Linked DNA regions of Homo sapiens: regions 1, 2 and 4 are each linked to region 3. The links are contacts of gene promoters, found by promoter capture Hi-C in human tissues and cell types (Jung and others, 2019). All regions are on one chromosome and are shown on one strand. The core of a region is centred on a gene start or on the middle of the fragment in contact, and the rest is flanking DNA. Distances in the headings are between cores, read along the strand shown.

Region 1 (2,758 bases), core at 199-2,698, 520 kb after region 3:
GTATTTAGAGCTGAGCTTAGTTCTGCACTGAGGTTTCCCCCCTACTGCAACAGCTCCAAGATCTTATGATCACAAAAAATTACTATGACTTACAGTAAGTGTGACCATGGAATTGGGATCACTCGAGAAAATATCCAGTTTTTACAGAGGCAAACTATAATATGCAGCAGTAAAATCGTATAGTATTGGAGGTCTGCTTCAAAATTTTTCCGCATAGAGAAAATAAACAACTGAATTGGTGAAGCAAATATCCTATATTCTTGATAATTGTGAAATTTGAGTGGCGGGTATATGGATGGGTTTCTTTGAACTACTCTCTCAATTTTGAGTACATTTGCACATTTCATAAAATATTAACATTATACCTATTTTACATTTAATTTTCTGAAGACATACATATAAGGCATGTCTTATGCCTTATAAGGATTTTTTCAGCACCTCAATTCATTTTTATGAACATTAATTATCACTGTTCCTTAAAGTAGATAGACAGGTAAATGGTATAGCTCTTAGCTTCTGAAATACTGTGGAAGTTTAATTCCCTGTGGTCAGAGAATATATTCTGCCTGATTTAAATCTTTTTAACTTTGAGAATTGTTTGATAGTCAAAATATTATCTACTTTGGTAAATTCTATACGCACCTGCAAACAATACGTATTTTGCTTTTGTTAGTTGGAATTCTACACAAATGTCAATTAGATCAAGTTGGTTGATAGCATGTTCAAGTCTTCCATATTCTTATGAATTTTCTGTCCACTATTAATAATTGAGAGAGAAGTTTTGAAATCTCTAAGTATAGATTTCTATTTCTCTTTTCAGTTCTATTATTATTTTCTTTGTGTATTTTGAAGGTTTATTATTGGGAATATACAAATTGAGGGTTGTTATTTCTTCTTGGTGAATTAATTTGCTTTTTCATCATCATGAAATGTCCCTCTTTATCTCTGGTAATATTATTCCTTTCCTACAGTCTACTGTGTTAGCCACTCCAGCTCTCTTGTGATTACTGTTTGCATGGTGTATCATTTTCCTCCTTCCACTTTTATTTCTCTGTCTTTGTATTTAAAGCTAATTTCCTGTAGTTAGCATATAATTGGGTCTTGCTTTTTTAATCTAGCCTGACAGTTTCTGCATTTTAATTAGAATGTTTAAACCATTTACATTTGATATAATTATTAACATAGTTGGGTTCAAGTCTACCAACTTGATATTTGTTTTCTATTTGATTCATCTTCTTTGTTCTTTTATTTTTCCTTTCCTGGCTTATTTCAGATTGGGTTTTCCAGGATTCCGTTTTTACCTTAAAAGAAGTTCTTTTTATATTTATTGATGAATAGGCACACTAGTAAAAATATTAATTTTTTGTGTGTATCTGAAAAAGTATTTCACCTTCATTTTGGAAAGATATGTTTGCTAAATATAAAATTTTTGGTTAATAGATTCTTTTTCTCTGAGTATTTTAAAGATGTCATTCCACTGCCTTCCAGCTTGCGTTTTTCTAAAGAGAAGTTTGCAGTCACCTTATTGTTGTTCCCCTAAAATGTAAGGATTCTCCTCCTCTAGACACTCTTAAAATTTTCTTTTTATCATAGGTTTTCAGCAACTTGATTATGATATACCTTGATATACTTTTATTAGTGTTTACGCTGTTTGAGATTTGTTTTACTTTTTGGACCTGTGGGTTTACACTTTTTATCAAATTTGACAACTTTGGGGGCCATTATTTTTCCTAATGCATTTTCTCGCTACTCTCTCTCACCCTTCTTTTGTTCTTGAATTCCAATTACAAGCATGTTAGACAACATTCCTGAGGCTCTGTTCATTTTTTCCAGTCTTTTTCCTCTATATACTTCTGTTTTGACAGGTTTTATTGCCCTGTCTTCAAGCTTACTGATCTTTTTTTCTGCAGTTTTTAATCTGCTGTTGATCCCCTCTAGTGAACTTTTCAGTTGAAAAATTATTTTTCATTTCTAGACATCCCATTTTTTTTTCAATACCTTCCTTTTCTCTTCCGTTTGCATTCATGTTTTCTGTTACATGCTTGAGCATATTTATAATAGCCATTTAAAATTCTTTTATCTACTAATTCTATCATTCCCATCATTCCTGGGCCTGATTTGATGGACTGATATTTTCTCCTAGTTATGGATCACAATCTTTGCTTCACATATCTCACCATATTTTATTGGGTGACAGGCATTTTGAATATAACATTGATAAACGTATAGATTTTTTTTTCCTTTATAAATAGTGTTGACATTTGTTCTGGCAAGTAATAAAGTTACTTGCAGATGAGGTTGATCTTTTTGAGGCTTGCTTTTACATTTTTTTGGGGTTATCTAGAGTTGCCTATACTCTAGAGTTAATTTATTCCTACTACTAAAGCTTGATCCTTTGTATTCTCTATTTTTTTTTCTTTTTTTTTTTGAGACGGAGTTTCACTCTTGTTGCCCAGGCTGGAGTGCAGTGGCGCGATCTCACCTCACTGCAACCTCCGCTTCCCAGGTTCAAGTGATTCTGCTGCCTCAGTCTCCCGAGGAGCTGGGATTACAGGCATGCGCCACTACGCCCAGCTAATTTTTTGTATCTTTAGTAGAGACGGTGTTTCTCCATGTTGGTCACGCTGGTCTCGAACTCCTGACATCGGGTGATCCGCCCATCTCAGCCTCCCAAAGTGCTGGGATTACAGGCGTGAGCCGTGTATTGTCTATTGATTGCCCCAAGTGCTCTATGAGGTCTCCAACTGAATAGAAGGAG
Region 2 (2,958 bases), core at 263-2,762, 610 kb before region 3:
CCTCCGAGCATCAGGCCGCTCGTGTGTGGGGCCATTTCTGTCACATCTCGGGAGGGACAGGACCCCAGGGGTGTTGACCGAGCTCAGGTGCGTGGTGCCTGCACGCCTGACTGCACTGGAGCGGAGCAGGAAGCCTCGAGGCCGCGGACGCGGTCGGTACATCACGCTGCTGCCTGTGCCTGAGGCAGACCCCATCCTGGAAAGAGTCCCACAGCCGGAGTTTTGCTCTTGGTAAAATGGGGCGGCCTCATAGCTAGGAGCTGCATGAGACCTGGGAAACCCCGAGTGAAGGGATGGCATGGGGAGGGGGGCTCAGGACGGCAGGCTGCCCATGGGGGCCTGGTGACCGCCCTTCTGAGGCGCCTGCCGGACGCGAGTGCAGCCCTCCAGGCAGGGGGCCCTGGCTCCGCGCCTTTGAGGGCCTGCGGGAGCGGCTCCGCGTGTTCGCTTGTGGAGGGGACGGACCCCACGCTGCAGGGTAAAGCCTGCAGGTCCCCGCTCCAGGCCTGCTGTTTCTCTTCTCTGACGCGTCCACGTTCTGTAGAATGGAAATGAGGCCCATCCCCAGTGTTGCCGCCCTCAAGTGGGGGTTTGGAAGGTCCGTGCTCACTCCCATGTCACGTGGAGCTGGCTCCTAGTTTTTGCCATGAGTTTTTCTGGCCGCTCCCTGCTTTGGGGCAACATGATATGTCCCCTGAGAGGCCTTAATTTTCCTCACCTGTGAAGGAGGGCCACATCCCCCACCTCCCGCACTCTAGCGCCCTGAGGAGCTGATGTGGAGCGTCGGGCCAAGGGGCTGTTGCTGGTGGGGTCCACCCCAGTCCGCCTTTGAGTTCAGGGCCTGGCCTTCCTACAGCTCTCTCCTCGGCCCAGGTCCTGCTGCACGTGACTTGTGACATCCGATTTAGGCTTCTCAGGAGAGGGCAGGGACACAGGTCCCATGAGTGCCTTTTACTGGGGGTGGGGATTGAGAGGTGGCCCTGGGGGCCCTGGCCACGTCCCTCGCTGACTGTGCTGGTCTCCGTGCAGTGTCAACAGCATCTCCACCCTGGAGCCTGTGAGCCGGTGCCAGCGCCTGAGTGAGCTGTACCTGCGGAGGAACCGCATCCCCAGCCTGGCTGAGCTCTTCTACCTGAAGGGGCTGCCGCGTCTGCGGGTGCTGTGGCTGGCCGAGAACCCGTGCTGCGGCACCAGCCCCCACCGCTACCGCATGACCGTGCTGCGCACCCTGCCGCGCCTACAGAAGCTGGACAACCAGGGTAGGTGGCCGCAGCGGAGTCACCGGCCCTCCCAAAACAATCCCTGGAAGGGGATGTCCCCAGCCCTCTTTTCTCTTCTCCTTTTCTGCAAATACCTGGTCTGGCGGGACATAGATGTGTCCTGTGAAGTCTCCTCCAGAGGCTGTTCCCCTGGCTTCTGTGTCTCCTCTTGATCCCGCCACCCGAATGCAGCAGCGCAGCGTAGGGTCCCTCCTGGGACTGACAGTTTGGGTATCCCCCAACGACCGCAGGACCTGGTAGCAAAGCAAAAGGGTTCCTTCTTTTGCTTCTGTGAGTAGCAGCCCTGCTCTGACCATCGCCATGCGCCATGGCGAGCGGGGGCGTCAGTATCTGGCAAGCAGCATCGCACTGGTCCACAGGGACTGGGCAGGCTCCACGGGCCACTGTGAACCTAGGGTGGCGGTGCCATCGCGCCCCTGCCGTGGGGAGGGGCCGTCCCAGCACCGCAGTGCCTGCTGCTGCGCTCCACCTATTGGAGGCACTCGTGCCTCCTCTAGCCAGCGCCAGCACCGACACAGTTTTCCAGGCTGTGGTTTCATGCTGTTTGTTCATCCTTGGCATTCTCAGCACACTAGTGTCTCATCCTTGTCAGGTATACAGACACCACTATTTTCTCCCAGACAATTTTATTGATATTAATAATATAAACTTCAGGGAAATTGATATATGAGAGAAATGGAATAAATTCAATATGGTCTGTTCCTTTTTCTATTGTGTCTTAGTTGAGGTTTTGAGGAGTATTTGCTTCTGGCCAAGGCTGGTGTTGAGATTCCTGAGCAGCCCTCCACCATCTGTTGTGTGTCAGCCTGTGCCAGGCTGGGGATGGGACAGTGAGGAACCGGCTGCTACTCTGGGAGTTGTCCCTGGAGGTGGATACACGTGCATGCATTTCACAAGCAGACTGTGCCTGAAGCCACAGTGAGGACGGGAGCTGCAGTGCATGTGGCCTGCACGTGGGTGAGGCCACTCATGCTGTCTTCTGTCTTTCATCCCAAAGCTGTGACGGAGGAGGAGCTGTCCCGTGCACTGAGTGAGGGAGAGGAGATCACTGCGGCCCCAGAGAGAGAGGGCACAGGCCACGGCGGCCCCAAGCTATGCTGCACACTGAGCTCCCTCAGCTCCGCTGCTGAGACTGGCCGGGACCCGCTGGACAGCGAGGAGGAGGCAACGTGAGGCTGGAGGGCAGCGGGGACTCCGCAGCCCATCCCTGTCCCCCAGGGTCCTCCCACGGGGAGTGAATGGGGCTTCCCGTGAGCTGCGTCTCTGGGAAGTGAGGGACAGGGATTATCCGGGGGGAGTGTCTGTTCTCATCCATATTCTCTGGGAGTGACTCAGTGCCCAGGTAGTGATTTCAGTGGCAGGTCCATGTTTTGCCCAACAGCGGATGTGCCAGGGAGCAGGAGAGGGGGTGAGCCAGGCCCCGTGCCCTGGCACAGAGAAGGCTCACAGCACCAGAGCTCGTGAGGTGCAGGGAGCCCCTGGTGGGGGGGGTGGCCTAGGGCCACAGTGACTGGAATGGTTTGTGGGCACGGCCATCAGTGCCCGTATGGCCTTGGGCCTGGGGGCCGTGGAGGGGCCACAGGGCTGACTCTGCAGTGAGACGCCGGCGCCTCCCAGGGCAGTTGGCAGCGGGTCACGAACGCATTTGACAGAAGCTGGGCACTTCTCTCCTGCTTGG
Region 3 (3,026 bases), core at 422-2,921:
CCCTGGTTCCACACTGCCTGGCTGCCCCTGCTTCAGGCACCCTGCACCTTTCTTCCCAAGCCCAATCCTACCTCTGACTCTGCCCAAGCAATCCGCCAGCCTGTGGTGACCTCCCCCAACCCCCTCAAGCTAGGAGTGGTCCAGAGCAGTGCTTAAGAGCCGGAGCCACAGAACCGGTGCACCCTGACTGTCCCAGGCAGGGTCTGCCTGCAGCTGGATGGAACAGGGTCTCAAGTAAGACCACCTGTGAAGCACCGCATCCTTCCCAACAGGACCTCCACTTACTTCGGACTCGAACCCCCTGCCTTTCCACGCTCAACTCTGCTCAGCTTGGTCCTCCTGGGGGCACGCCTAGGTCAGCCCTCAAATTCCACTGAAGCTCTGCTCCCCTCTTCCTGTCCTCCTCCCAGGCCAGCCCGCACCGCAGGCCCCGCCGTGCCCAGGTGGCCCTTCTTTACATCCCGTGGGGCCCAGCACAGGGACCAGGCATACCTGCTCCCGTCCCCAGTGACCAGGCCGCAGGTGGGCAGCACAGGAGAGCACGACCCGGCAGGGCACCCCCAGCCCTCCTGCTGACTCGACAAGGCCAGGAAGTGCCCGTCGTCCTGGTTCTGCCTCGGCCCTGCGTGACACCCACGCCACTGCACCCAGGCCTCTCCTACCCCTCCACGGGCCACTTAGCTGCAACCAGGAGGCCGTGGGCCAACGCGTTTTAAAAGCTGGCTCCCTAAAGCCAATCCGCACAGTCCCGAACTGCTCTCTGGGGCTTCTCCTCGTCAGAGCAAACACCTGCAGGGATGCCGCTCTGCTAGAGGGTGCAGAGCAGCCCCTGCCCCACCCTCTTCCCTTCGGCCACCTCCTGGCGTGGTCAGGCCGAGGGGAATCCACCCTCGTGGGCACCGTGACCTCACTCGGCGTCTTCTTCCTGACTTCCCCACGCACAGGGGCCCAGGAGGTGAGCGCGCGAGCGTCTCGAGCTCCACGGCCGCTTCTGCGTTCCAGCGGGGCAAGGTCCCGGCTCGCGTGACTGCTCCGGGACTCCTCGGGGCTCTGCGACATTTCCTCGCCTCCGGGAGCCGCACCGCCCGCCCGCCCCCGCGGCAGTTGGCCCGGTCGGCGGGAAGGGGCGAGGACGAGCGGCTGCGCCATAGCTGGTGCACAGGGCTCCCTCCTACCCGCGTACCCCGACGCCGGACCCGTCCCACCCGCAGGGGCCCGCAGAGCGCTCAGCCCTCCGCTTCCGCCCCCGCAAGCCAAGCAGAGCGGGAGGCTCATCCCGCGCCTGCCTCCAGGGCGCCCGCGCCAGGCTCTGCCCGCAGCTCCCGAGCCTCCCTCGGGGAACTGAGGCTCGTCTCGGGCAGCCCCGCCAAGGTCACGGGCTCGGGTTACGTAAGCCCGGGCTGCGGGCGGATGCGTACCTGCAGCGGGAACGTGGCCGCCCGGTTGCCCACGTAGCCGCGGATGACGTGGCTCTGTATGGAGAGCACCCGGCACTCCTCCTCCATGCCGGGCCTGGCCGCGGCGGCGCGGGGCCGAGGCGGGGGCACGGTCTCCGCCGCTCGCTCGGGCTCCGGCTCGGCTCGGGCTCGGGCTCCGGCCCCGGCTCCCCTCGGCTGCGACTCTGGCTCTGGCGCGCGGCGGACCCGATCAGCGCAGACGCCTCCTTCTGACCTCAGCGGGCGGCTCCGAACCCGCGAGTTCCGCGCGGCGCCGGGGGCTGGCCGGGGGCGGACCGGGGCGGGGACAGCCACGCAGGCCCCGCCCCCGGGCTGGGAGGAAGCGAAACCGGACCCTGGCCGCGCGGCCGCGCCAGGTGGCCCCCGCCACTCTGCCGCCCGAAACGCTGGGTTTGCACTTTCATTCCGCCTGGAGAGGGCTCTGCAGCGCCGTTCATTCGTTCGTTCATTCATTCATTCAACCATTGTGCTCCGCCTCAGCCCTGCGCCCCGCGCCCCGCGCCCCGCGCCCCGCCGCACGCAGGGGAGACTCGGGGGCCCGGGCTCCACGCCCCTGACCTCCGGGCGCGACACTCTCGCAACGCGGATGGCCACGAGAGTGCGCGCGGGCGTGGGAATAGTGCGGAGGCGCGAAAGTGACCCCGGACCCCGGATACCCAAGGGAACCGCGCTCTCAACTGCCTGCAGGGCCCGGAGCCCGCATCCGATCCGCGTCCCTTCCCAGGGGCCGCGCGGGAGCTGACAGACACGGGGCCGGGGGGACCCAGTCAACTCCGCACCGGCCTGGGGCGGCGGGCTTCTCTGGGGGCGCCCCAGACCCTTGCGGACCCTGAGTGCCCACTCTGGTGGCGCGGCCTGCAGAGGCCCCCAGCCGATGGCCACATGCCCGGCCGTCCATCCACAGGTGCCTGGGTCTGGGCCGCGTGTCCGATCCCACCCCAACCAGGTCTTCCTGTGGAGGGCCTGCCTTCGAGGACGAACCTGACCCCCTGGGGGACCCCACAGCCTTCACTTCCCACCCCTACGCTCTCCACAGCTGACGCACTCCCTGCGGCTTCCCTGCACCACCCCGGGGAACGGAGGCCTTTGGGTTCCAGACTTGCAGACATGGTGATTTGGGGCCCTGGGGTCAGTATCACCAGACTAAAGTCTTGGTGACCTAACACAGCGCACCTAGGGCTCTGTAGCTTGGTGAGACCCAATGCCCGACCAGGCGGGTGCTGAGGACTGAGGGAGGAAGACATTACTTAGAGATCTAGGCTTTTAAAAGAAAGTACTTCATAATTAGTCATAATTGTCCATTAATAATAGCTAACATTGGCCGGGCGCGGTGGCTCACGCCTATAATCCCAGCACTTTGGGAGGCTGAGTTGAGCGGATCAAGAGGTCAGGAGTTCAAGACCAGTCTGGCCAACATAATGAAACCCCATCTCTACTAAAAATACAAAAATTTAGCTGGGTGTGGTGGTGTGCACCTGTAATCCCAGCTACTTGGGAGGCTGAGGCAGGAGAATTGCATGAACCCAGGAGGTGGAGGTTGCAGTGAGCCAAGATCGCGCCATTGCCCTC
Region 4 (3,093 bases), core at 490-2,989, 720 kb after region 3:
TGGCTCATGCCTGTAATTCCAGCTCTTTGGGATGCTGAGGTGGGAGGATCACCTGAGGTCAGGAATTCGAAACCAGCCTGACCAAAATAGCGAAACCCCATCTCTACTAAAAATACAAAAATGAGCTGGGCATGGTGGCACATGCCTATAGTCCCAGCTACTTGGGAGGCTGAGGCAAGAAAATCACTTGAACCTGGGAGGCAAAGGTTGCAGTGAGCCGAGATCGTGCCACTGCACTCCAGCCGGGATGACAGAGACTCTATTAAAAAAAAAAAAATCAAATACAAAAACTAGCTAAATTAGCTGAGTACAGAGGCTCACACCTGTAATCCCAGCACTTTGGGAGGCCAAGGTGGAAGGATCACTTGAGCCCAGGAGTTCAAGACCAGCCTGGGCAACAGAACGAGACCCCATCTCTACAACAAATTTTTTTAAAAATTAGCTGAGCATGGTGGCTAACTTATATGGGTTTCTATGTAGTTGTGCTAGCTTCCAAAGAGTTCCAAATAAACAAAACTTGCAGCAAACACATCTGAGAAGGTCTGTAACAATACAGCCACAACACAGTCAGCCACTTTGTTGGGAGACAATTCTTTATGAGAACTGTCCATGGTGAGACTCCATTTTTAAGTCTCAGCATCTAGGCTTTCTAAGCAAACTTCTTAAAGGATGATGGACTTACACACACATCTGGAAAGCTGGCGCCAATGCACTGCTCAGGAGAGATTGGGACTCCCCGAGTGTTTATGGTCCAGAGGAGTGATGCTAGCGGCCTTCCACAAGAATCCTGTTAGGTCAGTTCAGCCAGAACCCCCTGCACCCTGATGTTTCCTCTTAGTTAAATTTTCCGTCCATGGCCCCCACTCCTGCTCCTAGGTCTCCCCCACTACACAATCCCATTGCAGCAGTCCCTATACCTATCATGATCATCCTGAACAGCCTGCCCTTTGTCTTGCTTTTCTGAGACAAGGTCTTGCTCTGTCACCTAGGCTGGAGTACAGTGGTGCAATCATGCAGCCTCGAACCCCTGGACTCAAGTGATCCTCCTGCCTCAGCCTCCCACGGAGCTAGGACTACAGGCTCACACCACCACACTTGGCTAATTTTTAAAAATTTCTGTAGACATGAGGTTTCACTTTGTTGCCCAGGCTGGTCTCAAGCTCCTGGCCTCAAGCTATCGTCCTGCCTTGCCTCCCAAAGCACTAAGTGCCTTGCTAACTTTAATAAGGGTCAGAATAAGTTTTTCTTTAAAAATATAAATACATAAATGAATAGATGGGGAGCAGAAAAAGCTCTAAAATACAAGAGTTCTCTAACGTGTAGAGGATGACGACAGCTTTCAAACATCACCATTCGGCAACCACCACAGTAAGCCGTTTCAGACAGGAATCATCGATGGATGCTAACACTAGTTTGTGAAAGTATGAGAAACAGGAAATGTACATAATCTCAAAGTACCTGCCACAAGATACATTTCATTTTTTATTTTTTTGAGATGGGTTCTTGCTCTATTCCCAGGCTGGAATGCAGTGGCAAGACTCTGGCTCACTGCAGCCTCAACCTCCCAGGTTAAAGCAATCCTCACACTTCAGTCTCTTGAGTAGCTAGAACTATAGGCACATGCCACCATACCTGGCTAATTTTTGCATTTTTTTGTAGACAGGGGTCTCACTCTGTTGCCCAGGCTGGTCTTGAACTCTTGGGCTCAAGCCGTCCTCCTACCTCCGCCTCCCAAAGCGCTGGGATTACAGGCATGTGCCACAGCACCAGGCTCAAGACACTTATTAATTACAAAGGGAAAACAATGATGCAATGAAAAGGATACACTCTACTGGCTTCTGTGCAGTCCTTCCTAAAATGCAAGCTGTGAGTCCAATCCTCAGGACACACCCAGGAACCCAAACTGAGAGGCACTCTATAAAGAAACTGGCAAAAATAAAAGTAAACGGCCAGGTGTGGTGGTTCACACCTGTAATCCCAGCACTTTGGGAGGCTTAGGCAGGTGGACTACCTGAGGTCAGGAGTTCGAGACCAGCCTGGCCAAGATGGTAAAACCCCGTCTCTACTAAAAATACAAAAATCAGCTGGATATGGTGGCAGGCACCTGTAATCCCAGCTACTGGGGAGGCTGAAGCAGAAAAATCGCTTGAACCCAGGAGGCGGAGGCTGCAGTAAGTCAAGATTGCGCCACTGCACTCCAGCCTGGGCGACAGAGCAAGACTCTGTCTTAAAAAAAAAAAAAAAAAAAAAGAAGAAAGAAAAAGAAAAGAAAAGAAACAACAACCAAATGTGGTATGTGATCTTGGTTTCAAAAACAAACACTGTAAAAGACAACTTAAGGAAATTTGAGGAGATGTGAATATATAGTATTATATACTATTAGAGATTGAGTGTTATTTTGATGGTGTGATAAAGCTATAAGCTCACAGCATAAATATCACCATTTTGAGAAGTACGTGCTCAATGTTTAGTTGTATGACCATGATATCCAAAACTTACTTTCAAATGGATCAATAAAAATATAAACATAAATAAATTGGGTCCAGATAACAATAACTGTTGAATCTAGGTAGCAGATAATCAAGATTCTACTCTCAGATTGTCTTTCAAAATGTTCATAATATGAGGGAAAAGTCAGAATTTCAAAATGTATAGATTGGTAGTCCTTCTCTCTAACAAAACTGGTTAAAACAGTCAGGTACAGTGGCACGTGCCTGTAATACTAGCATTTTGGGAAGCCAATGTGGGTGGATCACTTGAGGCCAGGAGTTCAAGACCAGTCTGGCCAACATGGTGAAACCCCGCCTCTACTAAAAATACAAAAATTGGCTGGGTGCAGTGGCTCACGCCTGTAATCCCAGCACTTTGGGAGGCTGAGGTGGAAGGATCGTTTGAGCTCAGGAGTTCAAGACCAGCCTGGGCAACAAAGTGAGACCTTATCTCTACTAAAAATCCAAAAATTTAGCTGGGCATGATGGCACATGTCTGTAGTCCCAGCTGCTTGAGAGGCTGAGGCAGGGGGATCACTTGAGTCCGGGAGGTCGAGGCTGCAGTGAGCCGTGATCATACCACTGTACTCCAGCCTGGGCGACA

Evidence for each region. The method cuts DNA at HindIII sites, captures the fragments that hold promoters and counts their contacts. A contact is called where the count stands out against the background at its distance.
Region 1: a fragment that was not itself captured here is called in contact with the fragment with the promoter of PDXK in region 3 in 3 of the 25 tissues and cell types used here (dorsolateral prefrontal cortex, liver and lymphoblastoid cells).
Region 2: a contact is called between a fragment that was not itself captured here and the fragment with the promoter of PDXK in region 3, in 1 of the 25 tissues and cell types used here (dorsolateral prefrontal cortex).
Region 4: a contact is called between a fragment that was not itself captured here and the fragment with the promoter of PDXK in region 3, in 1 of the 25 tissues and cell types used here (spleen).

Annotation. Positions count from the first base shown.
Region 1 is chr21:43,197,682-43,200,439 of GRCh38, reverse strand. No RefSeq gene overlaps it. Among named protein-coding and RNA genes, the nearest start is that of CRYAA, 30 kb to the right of the region's middle. The HindIII fragment of the contact is 5,641 bases long and covers 1-2,758 here.
Region 2 is chr21:44,331,334-44,334,291 of GRCh38, reverse strand. It overlaps CFAP410 (cilia and flagella associated protein 410), which reads left to right. Exons shown (of 7, transcript NM_004928.3): 4 at 1,030-1,259; 5 at 2,278-2,449. Among named protein-coding and RNA genes, the nearest start is that of CFAP410, 6.6 kb to the left of the region's middle. RefSeq lists enhancers at 1,923-2,422, 2,423-2,924. The HindIII fragment of the contact is 7,900 bases long and covers 1-2,958 here.
Region 3 is chr21:43,717,774-43,720,799 of GRCh38, reverse strand. It overlaps PDXK (pyridoxal kinase), which reads right to left and starts at 1,671. Exons shown (of 11, transcript NM_003681.5): 1 at 1,419-1,671. The coding sequence starts at 1,505. It overlaps LOC124905032 (a long non-coding RNA gene), which reads left to right and starts at 2,252. Exons shown (of 2, transcript XR_007067896.1): 1 at 2,252-2,585. RefSeq lists silencers at 683-872, 1,030-1,339, 1,380-2,169 and enhancers at 69-978, 2,320-2,369. The HindIII fragment of the contact is 22,908 bases long and covers 1-3,026 here.
Region 4 is chr21:42,994,076-42,997,168 of GRCh38, reverse strand. All of the region lies in intron 1 of PKNOX1 (PBX/knotted 1 homeobox 1), which reads right to left. Among named protein-coding and RNA genes, the nearest start is that of PKNOX1, 21 kb to the right of the region's middle. The HindIII fragment of the contact is 8,048 bases long and covers 1-3,093 here.